Regions from separate parts of the Homo sapiens genome. Here region 1 is linked to region 2. The links are contacts of gene promoters, found by promoter capture Hi-C in blood cells and fetal thymus (Javierre and others, 2016). All regions are on one chromosome and are shown on one strand. The core of a region is centred on a gene start or on the middle of the fragment in contact, and the rest is flanking DNA. Distances in the headings are between cores, read along the strand shown.

Region 1 (5,515 bases), core at 1,660-4,159, 5.7 Mb before region 2:
AATCAAGGATCAGAGAGGTGAGAGAATGGCTTGCTTGGCATCTCATACAGCGTGGAGGGACAGAGCAGGGATCTGAAGCCATGTATTCCCACAGAGCCTGCAGTTTTAACCCCTGTGCAGTGCTACCTTCCTGAGGGGGACACCCAGCCGGCCATAATGCAGCGTGGTGAGTAGATGAGCTGCAAGTGCGGGGGAACACAGGAAAGAGAAACTCGGCTTGGGCACCATCAGGGAGAACTGTGAAGAGGGGTGGTTGGGCTGGCCTTCGAAAGGTTAGTAGGAGTTCTGCCAGATACACAGGAAAATGGCCTGAGGAGGTGGGGCCTGGGCAGAGGGCACAGAATGAACAAAAGCGGGTTGGGACAGTGTATGCTGGGTGGGTTAAGGAAGCCTCTTTGGGTTGAAAGGTGAATTTGTCTTATGTCACTGGGAAGTCTGTAGGAGGGGAGCTTCAGATGCAGCCCGAGTATGGGGCCCACACGTGCCATTGGGGCTCTCCTTGGCTTCGCTCTGCCAGCAGGCTGGAGTCGGGCAGATCCTCCTGGTTTATCAACTCAGTGGAAAGAGGATTTAGAGTCTTCAGTGGTTTGTTTTGTTCCGAGACAGGGTCTAGGTCTGTCACCCAGGCTGGGGTGAAGGGCATGATCATAGTTCACTGTAACCTTGAACTCCTGGCCTCAAGCAGTCTTCCCACCTCAGCCTCCAAATAGCTAGGAGTACAGGCATGCACCACCACACCTGGCTGATTTTTAAATTTTTGGGGGATGTGTGTGTGTAGAGATGGGGTCTCACTACATTGCCAGGGCTGGTCTCAAACTCCTGGCCTCAAGTGATCCTCCTGCCTTGGCCAACCAAAGTGTTGGGATTATAGGCGTGAGCCAGCACACCCAGCCAGTATTTATTTACTTAGAGACAGGGTCTTGCTCTGTTACCCAGGCTGGAGTGTAGTGGTTCAATCAGAGCTCACTGCAGCCTCGACCTCCTGGACACAAATGATCCTTCCTCCTCAGCCTCCCGAGTATCTGGATTTACAGGCGGGAGCCCAGCCTTTATTGTTTTTAATTGATAAGTAAACATCACATATATTTATGGTATACAACATGCTGTTTTGGTATGTGTGTACATTGTAGAATGGCTAAGTCAAGCCATTTAACATAATGCATTACCTCACTTGCTTTTTTTGTAGTGAGAACACTTAAAGTCTACTCTCTCAGCCATTTTGAAGTATGCCATGTATTGTTAGTAATTGTTGCTACCATGATGTACAGTAGCTCTCTTGAACTTATTTCTCTTGTCCAACTGAAGCTTTGTGTCCTTTGACCAACATCTCCACAATCCTCCACTGCCATCCTCTGTATTTTATTTTATTTTATTTTTTTGAGACAGAGTCTCACTCTGTTGCCTAGGCTGTAGTGCAGTGGTGCCATCTCAGCTCGCTACACCCTCCACCTTCTGGGTTCAAGCAATTCTCCCTGCCTTAACCTCCCAAGTAGCTGGGATTACAGGCACCCACTACGACGCCCAGCTAATTTTTGTATTTTTAGTAGAGACGGGGTTTCACCATGTTGGCCAGGCTGGTCTCGAACTCCTGACCTCAGGTGATCCACCCGTCTCAGCCTCCCAAAGTGCTGCGATTACAGGCGTGAGCCACCGTGCCCGGCCAATCCTCAGTGTTTTTATACTAGCCCCAGGGAATATTCCATTTGGGTTGTATGCCTATCCAAGAAGGTGGTATTTGGGAGTGGGTGGGGGAAGATGAGGTAGAGATGCTAGATACACAACATAATATCCACAAGTACATGTGCAACTTTTAATAGATACCTTCGTCTTCTGTACTTTAGTTTCCTTGTCTGAAAAGTGGGACTAATACAATCTTCCCTGCCTCATACATAGGGTTTGGGAAGATTCCACATGGTAGGCATTCACCAGTACAGTTAGAGAATGTTCTTTGGGCCGGGCACGGTGGCTCACATCTATAATCCCAGCACTTTGGGAGGCTGAAGCAGGCGGATCACTTGAGGTCAGGAGTTCGAGACCAGCCTGGCCAACATGGTGACACCCGATCTCTACTAAAAATACAAAAATTAGCCAGGCGTGGTAGCATATGCCTGTAGTCTCAGCTACTCGGGAGGCTGAGGCACGAGAATCACTTGAACCCAGGAGATGGAGGTTGCAGTGAGCTGAGATTGTGCCACTGCACTCCAGCCTGGGCAACAGAGTGAGACTGTCTCATTAAAAAAAAAAAAAAAAAAGGCCGGGCACGTTGGCTCATGCCTGTAATCCCAGCACTTCGGGAGGCCGAGGCAGGTGGATCACGAGGTCAAGAGATCGAGACCATCCTGGCCAACATGGTGAAACCCCGTCTCTACTAAAAATACAAAAATTATCTGGGCGCAGTGGTGCGCTCCTGTAGTCCAGCTACTCCGGAGGCTGAGGCGGGAGAATCGCTTGAACCTGGGAGGCAGAGGTTGCAGTGAGTTGAGATTGTGCCACTTCACTCCAGCCTGACGACAGAGCGAGACTCCATCTCAAAAAAAAAAAAAAAAAGAAAAGAAAAAGAGAGAGAGAGAGTGCTCTTTGGAACCTAGAGCACTGGTCTCCCAATTGGTAGAAGGCCCCAAATGGCACCTTGCCAGGACCTGGTGTTGCCATTTAAACTTGGGCTGCTTGGATTCAAATCCCAGCCCCAGCTGGTAAGAGCTAGATAACCTTGGGCAAGTAGCTTTACCTCTCTGTGCCTTAGTTTCCACATCTGTACCAGAGAGAAGAATGCTTAGGGCACTGCCAGGCACATGGTAGACATCAGTAAATATTCTTTTGATGAGTGCATGAATGGAAAATCTGAGTCAGAAGCGACTCACGGCTTGTTAAACCTTTTTGGATTTGTATCGCCTAGAGTCCCTCCAGAAAAGCATTACTCTGTTACTGCAGGCTGAGATGACCCATTTCCCTGTTCCTCAGCCAGCCCTGTGTCTTATCTTCTAGGAAAGAATTCATAGTAATTTTTTCCAGGAGTATGTGGTAGGACATAGTAATTTTGATTGGTAATGGAACCAGCCTAATATTATGGACATGTAAGAAAATGTCCATGTTTTTCAGAGCTGCAAACCGAAACGCATAAAGTTGAAATGACATGATATCCGGCATTTGCTTTAAAATACTTCAGGCCGGGTGTGGTGCCACACATGTGTATTCCCGGCACTTTGGGAGACCAAGGTGGGAGGATTGCTTGAGCTCAGGAGTTGGAGATCAGCCTGCGCAACATAGCAAGACCTCATCTCTACTAAAAGTAAAAATAAATTAATTAACCAGACATGGTGGGATATGCCTGTGGTCCTAGCTACTCAGGAGGCTGAGGCAGGAGGATCACTTGAGCCTGGGAGGTTGAGGCTGCAGTGAGCCAAGATCACACCACTGTAGCAGCCTGGAAGACAGAGTGAGACCCTGTCCAAAAGTAAATAAATACAATAAAATACTTTGGTAAGAAGGAAAAGGGGGGAAAAGGAAGAAATAAAGAATAGATGAAGCTAATATGGCAGAATCTTGACAATTTTTGAATCTAGGTTTGGGTACAAGGGAGTTCATTGTACCTTACTCCCTACTTTTTTTTAGCATGTTAACAGAACAAAAACCAGCCCTATCTATCACACACACACACACACACACACACACACACACCCACACACACACAAAGACTAAAAATTGTGTGACCATGAAAAGCACTGCGATCCTGCTGCCCACAGACAGTTGGGAAGGTCCTGAGCCAGGGTGGCGATGGGTAAATGACCACCTTGCAGTTCTTCGTTCATCCCCTTTGTGAGGAGACCTTTTCTGGTTCAGCAACTGGACAGATAGTGGATTTCAGGCCAAAGCATCAATTTCTCATCTCTTTCCTGCTGAGGAGGAGGAGACCAAACCCCCCAGTGACTGACTCCTGGGATCCCTTTCACTGCTGGGCCTGGTTTTACCATGGGGTGGAGGGAGCCACAAGCTGCTCTTCTCCAGGGACCTGTGTGATGACGGCAAAAACGTAACTGGCCAATCTTCCACAATGACTAAATATTAACTCCAGCCCCGCTCCTGGACGCACATGAGCAGTCTTGCCCATCCTTGTTAAACAGGCAACCGCCCCAGCCTTCTCTCTAGTTGCACATGGAAGTGAGTGGTGGGCTGGGTTTTCCAGCGCTGAACGTGCTCTTCATTCCGCTGCCTGTGGACGTTAGGGAGGGGCTTCCGCAGTCCATCTGGCACTGGGTGGGTCTCAGTCCGGGCGGGCGATCCACCCAGGAACTGACCCCTGGTTGCTCCAGAAAGGTCATCGTTTAAGAATGTTTCTTGGGTAGCCCAGTGGGAGACCCACGTGTGCGTGTGGTCAGCTGTAGCTTCCGGCTGTCTCACTTCTGCTGAATTCCAGCAATTTCTCATTTCCTTTAGGAAACAGGATGAGTCTGGAGAGGAGTATGAAAAATCATGACAAACCTGGCGATAGGGACACTGGGAACCTAGCCCTGAATGAAGCTTATAGTTGGTCATGATTGCCAGGGTCTTGAACAGTGTGGACCAGGGGAAAGAAGGTACCTGGGGCCAGATGCCCTGGATTCAAATCCCACCACCCCCACTAACACTTGTGACCTTGAGAAAGTTGCGTAACCTCTCTGTGCCTCAGTTTGCTCATTTGTAAAATGATGATAGTACCTGCCTCGTAGGATTTAAGGATTAAATTAGATACTGTTTTTTAAGTGTTTGAAACTGCCTCTTCTGTAGTAGTTCCTCAATTAATAGTGGCTATGACAGTATTATCATATCCTGTTGTAATGGGCATGCACAGTTAGGATTAAGAACCTTTGGTCAGCTAGGTGTGGTGGCTCACACCTGTAATCCCAGCACTTTGGGAGGCCGAGACGGGTGGATCACCTGAGGTCAGGAGTTTGACACCAGCCTGGCCAACATGGTGAAACCCTGTCTCTACTAAAAATTAAAAAAATTAGCTGGGCGTGGTGGTGGGTGCCTATAATCCCAGCTACTCTGGAGGCTGAGGCAGGAGAATCGCTTGAACCCAGGAGGCGGAGGTTTCAGTGAGCCTAGATCACGCTACTGCATTCCAGCCTGGGCAACAGAGTGCACAGAGTGAGACTCTGTCTCAAAAAAAAAAAAAAAAAAAAAAGAACCTCGGTTTATAAATAGTGGTTCAGATGGAAGCAGAAATTAGAGGAGAGGAAGAGGGAAGCACTTTTCTCCCCAGCAGTCCATGGTTTGAGGAAATAGGCTTAATTTCATCGTTGAAAAATGTTATTTTTCACTCGATGTTCAAAATCTCCTAGGAAAGCAGGGGCAAAAGACTTTTTTTTTTTTTTTCCTCCTCATGCTTGGTCATGCAAAAGACTTTAAAGAGAGAAAATGTCTCTTCCCCACTTCTCTATATACATGCTGGGAAAAAAAAGACTGGAAGGAAATGAACCAATGTCTTAACAGTGGTTGCCCTTTGGTGGGGAGAGAATGAGTAACTCTATAATCT
Region 2 (5,668 bases), core at 1,154-3,653:
CCAGTCTGCATCGGTGCATGTGTGCAGGTGGCAGTGGCTCTCTTTCTTGGTCCACAATCATCCTGGGCTGCAATAATCTCCATTTTCTCGGGCCTGGAGCCCCTGAAGCAGTGCCTGGGTTTGATGCATCTCTGGAGCCCTAGCTGCTGCAGCAGAATGAATGAGGTTCCTGAATGGAGTCAGTGGGTTTCGGGGTTTCTGTATATGTTGTCAGTGTGTAACTGTGTCTCTTAAAGTCTGCACATCTGTGTCCCGGAATGTGTGTGTTTGCGAGGCTTTGGTAAGTGTGTGTTTGTCTGAGTCTTGCTTTCCTTCAGTGACTCTGTTGTTTTGTTTCGTTTAGAGACAGAATCTTGCTCAGTCACCCAGGCTGGAGTGCAGTAGCATGATCACGGCTCACTGCAGCCTTGAACTCCTGGGCTCAAGCAATCCTCCCACCTCAGCCTCCTGAGTAGCTGGGACTACAGATGTGCACCATCATACCTGGCTCATTTTTTTTTTTTTTTTAAGAGATAGGGTCTTGGCCAGGCACGGTGGCTCACGCCTGTAATCCCAGCACTTTGGGAGTCCGAGGTGGGCGGATCACGAGGTCAGGAGATCGAGACCATCCTGGCTAACACGGTGAAACCCCGTCTCTACTAAAAAATACAAAAAAATTTAGCCAGGCGCGGTGGCAGGCGCCTGTAGTCCCAGCTACTCGGGAGGCTGAGGCAGGAGAATGGCAGGAACCCGGGAGGCGGAGCTTGCAGTGAGCCGAGATTGCACCACTGCACTCCAGCGTGGGAGACAGAGCGAGACTCCGTCTCAAAAAAAAAAAAAAAAAAAAGAGATAGGGTCTTGCTATGTTGCCCAGGCTGGTCTCAACCTCCTGGGCTCAAGCAAACCTCCTACCTCGGCCTCCCAAATTGCTGAGATTACAGGCGTGAGTGAGCCGCCATGCCCAGCCACGAAGTAACTCTGTATTTGAGGCTCTTTCTGTGTCTTTCCCTTCTCTCTTGGGCCAGGGGTGCGTGTCCATGCATTTTGGGAAGGAGTCCTTGCTGTCTGCTGGTCTGTGTGCTCGGTGTCCGGGGAAGTCTGAGAACCATGTTGTTCACTCTCTTCAGCTCTGTGTGTTTGTGTCAGTCAGTGAGAGCATGAGTGAGTCGTGTGTCTTTTGCCCTGCACCTCCCTTTCACCTGTGGCTTAAGAACTCTGTACTATGCGGCCAACAGCCCACTCTTCCCCAGCTCTCAGGGTGGCTCTGAGCTAGTCTATTCCCCTTCTGGGCCTCTCTCTCCTTAGTTGTTCTCAGAGGCTCCTTTCCAGAACTGGCCTGCAGATGGTCAGGAAAATCCTCTGAGTAGCGTTATTGTAAATTCCCTACAAGAGGAGAATGGAGAAGGCCCTGTGGAGCCTGGCCTGGGCAGAGAGGAAGCCCGGAGGGGAGACAGGACAGAGACACTTATAAAGGACAAGAAGGGGCCGGGTGTAGTGGCTACACCTGTAATCTTAGCGCTTTGGGAGGCGGCATAACCTGAGGTCAGGAGGTTTGGGAGGCGAGGCAGGCGGATAACCTGAGGTCAGGAGTTCAAGACCAGCCTAGGCAACATGGTGAAACCCCACCTCTACTAAAAAAAAAAAAAAAAAAAAAAAATTAGCCAAGCCTGGTGGTGCATGCTAGTAGTCCCAGCTACTCAGGAGGCTGAAGCAGGAGAATCACTTGAACCCAGGAGGCGGAGGTTGCAGTGAGCCAAGATTGTGTCACTGCACTCCAGCCTGGGTGACAGAGCAAGACACTGTTTCAAAAAAAGAAAAAAAAGAAATCAATGACTAAATTATTGGGCTTACAAGATAGCAGATCAGCCTCCCGAGTAGCTGGGACTACATGCATGCACCACATCTGGCTAATTTTTGTATTTTTAGTAGAGATGGAGTTTCACCACATTGCCCAGGCTGATCTCAAACTCCTGGCCTCAAGTGATGCACTCGCCTCGGCCTCCCAAAGTGCTGGCATTACAGGCGTGAGCCACTGTGCCCACCAGCAATGACCGAATTTGTATCATCAACTTTCACACTTCTCTGGGGAACTGACAGTCCCCTGGGTGGAGGGTGGAGTGGTAGCAGGGCCAAGCCCTTGGAAACCAATCTGTGAATCTGAGACTTTGTCCTTGGGGGGTGATGGAGACCATGGAGGATTTTGAACAGGTCTTGGTGTTAGAAAGATCTCTCTGGAGTCTTCAGGGGAACTGGAGGGCCCAGTGTGAGTGGGTGGTGACCCCATGAGCAGCTGGGGCTTGGGGTCCCTGCTCCACCTCCGGGCCCCACCCCCTGACATCACTGTCGCATTATTGCACCAGGTCTGGCTGACCAATAAGCTGCTGCTTGCTATGATAATGGGTCCTAGCAACGGTGTCTGACCTTGGCTAAGAGGGAAGGAGATCCTATCAGTGGGGAGAGTGTGAGGGGAGAGGGAGAGCCTGCAGGGCAGGTGAGTCCCCCAGGGCTCTCTCGCTGGGCCCCTGTGCGTGGGCGGAGCAGGAGCTTATGGTCTAATCCGGACCCCCTCAGCCCAAATTCCAACCACTGACTTGTCTGCCCCTTGCTGCCAGGACCTGTTCCAGGTTCCTACTCTTCCCACCGCAGACCATACTAGGGAGAGGGCACACCCAGGATAGGAGGCTCAGATCTGGAGGCAACAATGTCTTTTTTTTTTCCTTTTTTTTTTTCTGAGACGGAGTCTCGCTCTGTCGCCCAGGCTGGAGTGCAGTGGTGCAATCTTGGCTCACTGCAACCTCCGCCTCCTGGGTTCAAGAGCTGGGACTACAGGCATGCGCCACAACACCTGGCTAATTTTTGTATTTTTAGTGGAGATGGAGTTTCACCATGTTGGCCAGGCTGGTCTCGAACTCCTGACCTCAAGTGATCCACCCACCTCGGCCTCCCAAAGTGCTAGGATTACAGGCGTGAGCCACCATGCCCAGCCGGGAACAATGTCTTAAGGACATATTTCTGTGGGGGGTGGAGTGGGGTAGCAGAGGATGGGGTGAGTGGTAGGAGGTGAAGAGACGGGGTGCAGGGGGCAAGGAGACAATGCAGGAGGCAGGGACATGCAGCTGAAGGGAGAGTAGCTCTCTAGGTGGGTGAAGGAGCCTGGGGACCTGGGTTGGGGTCCTGGCTATGCCTCTGGATGAGGAGACCTCATTTGTCTTGTCTGAGCCTCAGTCCTTCTCCCTGTCAAATGGGGACAGTGATCCCAGACATGAGCAGCTCTCCCAGGGCACCCTGAAGACCCTTAGTGAGTAAATGTATTTTAGAGATGATGGGCCAGAGGAGGGTGAGTGGGAAGAGGGAGGACCAGGGAAGCTCCTGGTGAGGAGGAGGGATCTGAGGGGGGACCATCACGACAGGAGCTCTGGGCGGTGGGAGGGGAACTGAACCCCGGGAGGCAAGGGCTGCCATGGCAGGGGTGGGGTTTCATGGAAATGACTCCTGGTGTCCAGGTGGTCCCCATGTCTGGCTTCCCGAACCCAAGGGCGTCTGAACCCAAAGTCAGCCTAGGGCTAGCTGAACGGGGTTTGTGGGCATCACAGCAGCCCTGCGAGGTGGGGAGGAGTATCCCCCACGGGGCAGCTGAGGCTCAGACAGGGCGAGGACTTGCTCAAAGTCACACAGCTAAGAATATTACTAATGATAAGAATAATGACGATGATGGTGATGCCAATGACACGAGGCACCTGCCCTGAGCCAGGCGCCGTTTTATGGGCTGCTTTATGTCATAACTCATTCAAGTCACAGAGATCCTAGGAGGTGGTTTGCCAGGATTGTAGGTATCATTCTCAGTGTTCAGATGAGGAGAGTGAGGAGAGAGTTAAGTAACTTGCCTCACATCACTCAGTAAGTATGTGGTGGAGCCAGGATTTGATCCCAGGCAGTCTGGCTCCGGGTCTGGGTCCCCTCCACCCTACCCTCCAATCCCAGCCACCGCAGGAGTGCAGCTGTTTCCTCTGAATGGGCCTGTACCACCCTTTCCTATGCAGCCCTGGCTATGTAATTTGCCCTGGCTATATAATTTGCAAGGCCCAGTACGAAATGAAAATATGGGGCCCCTGGTTCAAATATTATAAAGAATTTCAGGCCAGGCATAGTGGCTCATGCCCTTAATCCCAGCGCTCTGGGAAGCTGAGGCAGGAGGACCTTGATCTCGGAAGTTCAAGACCAGCTGGGACAACATAGTGAGACTCCCATCTCTACAAAAAATTTAAAAAGTAGCTGGGCATGGTGGCATGCGCCTGTGGTCCCAGCTGTTCAGGAGGCTGAGGTGGGAGGATTGCTAGAGCCAAGGAGATCAAGGCTGCAATGAGCCATGATCGTAGCACTGTGCTCCAGCCTCGATGACAGAGAGACCCTGTCTCAAACAAACAAACAAACAAACAAACAATTTCAGCTAGTGTCAGCAGAGCATTAAACCAAGCACTGGGCCATTCTAAGCACAGAACCCTCCAGGGCACACATACACCCAGAAAACTGACCTGTGCCTAGGTTACCCTGGAGACTCCAATAGTGCTCCAAGAGGCTGCTTGGTGGTCATGCCCATTACCCAGAGAGGTGCTTCATTTTGCCCCTGGTCACACAGCAAGTTAGTGGCAGAAAAGGGATGTGAACCTGGGCCTGCCAGACCCCAAAGCCCTCTAACTTGTGCCAAAAATGTGTCCCCAATTCTTGAAGGAAAAAGAGAGCTGTGGGCTTCCAGGGCGACTCCCTTCACATCCGTGGTATCTGTCTCTCCCTGCCCCATGCCAAGGCCCAGGAGGTGTGAATGGCTCCCTTCTCCTCTGCAGGCGCTGAGGATCACGCATCCTGTGACTCTCCCCTGTCCCCCGCCACCCTCTGAACCACTGGCCACCATGGCTACTTCAAAGTTGCCCGTGGTGCCTGGGGAGGAGGAAAACACCATCCTTATGGCCAAGGAAAGGCTGGAGGCCCTGCGCACAGCCTTTGAGTCGGGTGACCTCCCCCAGGCCGCCTCTCACCTCCAGGAGCTGCTGGCCTCCACGGAAAGCATCCGCCTGGAGGTGGGCGTCACGGGCGAGTCGGGCGCGGGCAAGTCCTCCCTCATCAATGCCCTGCGTGGCCTGGAGGCCGAGGACCCTGGCGCGGCTCTCACGGGCGTCATGGAGACCACGATGCAACCGTCGCCCTATCCACACCCACAGTTCCCTGACGTGACCCTCTGGGACCTGCCAGGAGCCGGCTCTCCAGGCTGCCCGGCTGACAAGTACCTAAAGCAGGTAGACTTCAGCCGCTATGACTTCTTCCTGCTGGTCTCCCCCCGCCGCTGCGGGGCCGTCGAGACCCGCCTGGCCGCTGAGATCCTGTGCCAGGGCAAGAAGTTCTACTTTGTGCGCACCAAGGTGGACGAGGACCTGGCGGCCACGCGCACCCAGCGGCCGTCGGGCTTCAGAGAGGCCGCTGTCCTGCAGGAGATCCGAGACCACTGTGCCGAGCGGCTGCGGGAGGCCGGCGTGGCTGACCCTCGCATCTTCCTGGTGTCCAACCTCTCGCCGGCCCGCTACGACTTTCCCACGCTGGTGTCCACCTGGGAGCACGACCTGCCCTCCCACCGGCGCCACGCTGGCCTGCTGTCGCTCCCCGACATCTCGCTGGAGGCCTTGCAGAAGAAGAAGGC

Evidence for each region. Contacts are between HindIII fragments. The CHiCAGO score rates a contact against its expected background, and 5 or more counts as called.
Region 1: a contact is called between a fragment that was not itself captured here and the fragment with the promoter of IRGC in region 2, in 1 of 17 cell types (naive CD8 T cells). The highest score is 6.5, in naive CD8 T cells.

The regions. Positions count from the first base shown.
Region 1 is chr19:37,995,335-38,000,849 of GRCh38, forward strand. The region is part of intron 1 of SIPA1L3 (signal induced proliferation associated 1 like 3); the gene reads left to right. Among named protein-coding and RNA genes, the nearest start is that of SIPA1L3, 91 kb to the left of the region's middle. RefSeq lists an enhancer at 3,649-4,848. The HindIII fragment of the contact is 3,213 bases long and covers 1,304-4,516 here.
Region 2 is chr19:43,713,673-43,719,340 of GRCh38, forward strand. It overlaps IRGC (immunity related GTPase cinema), which reads left to right and starts at 2,404. Exons shown (of 2, transcript NM_019612.4): 1 at 2,404-2,470; 2 at 4,821-5,668. The coding sequence starts at 4,887. RefSeq lists an enhancer at 2,377-2,877. The HindIII fragment of the contact is 15,065 bases long and covers 1-5,668 here.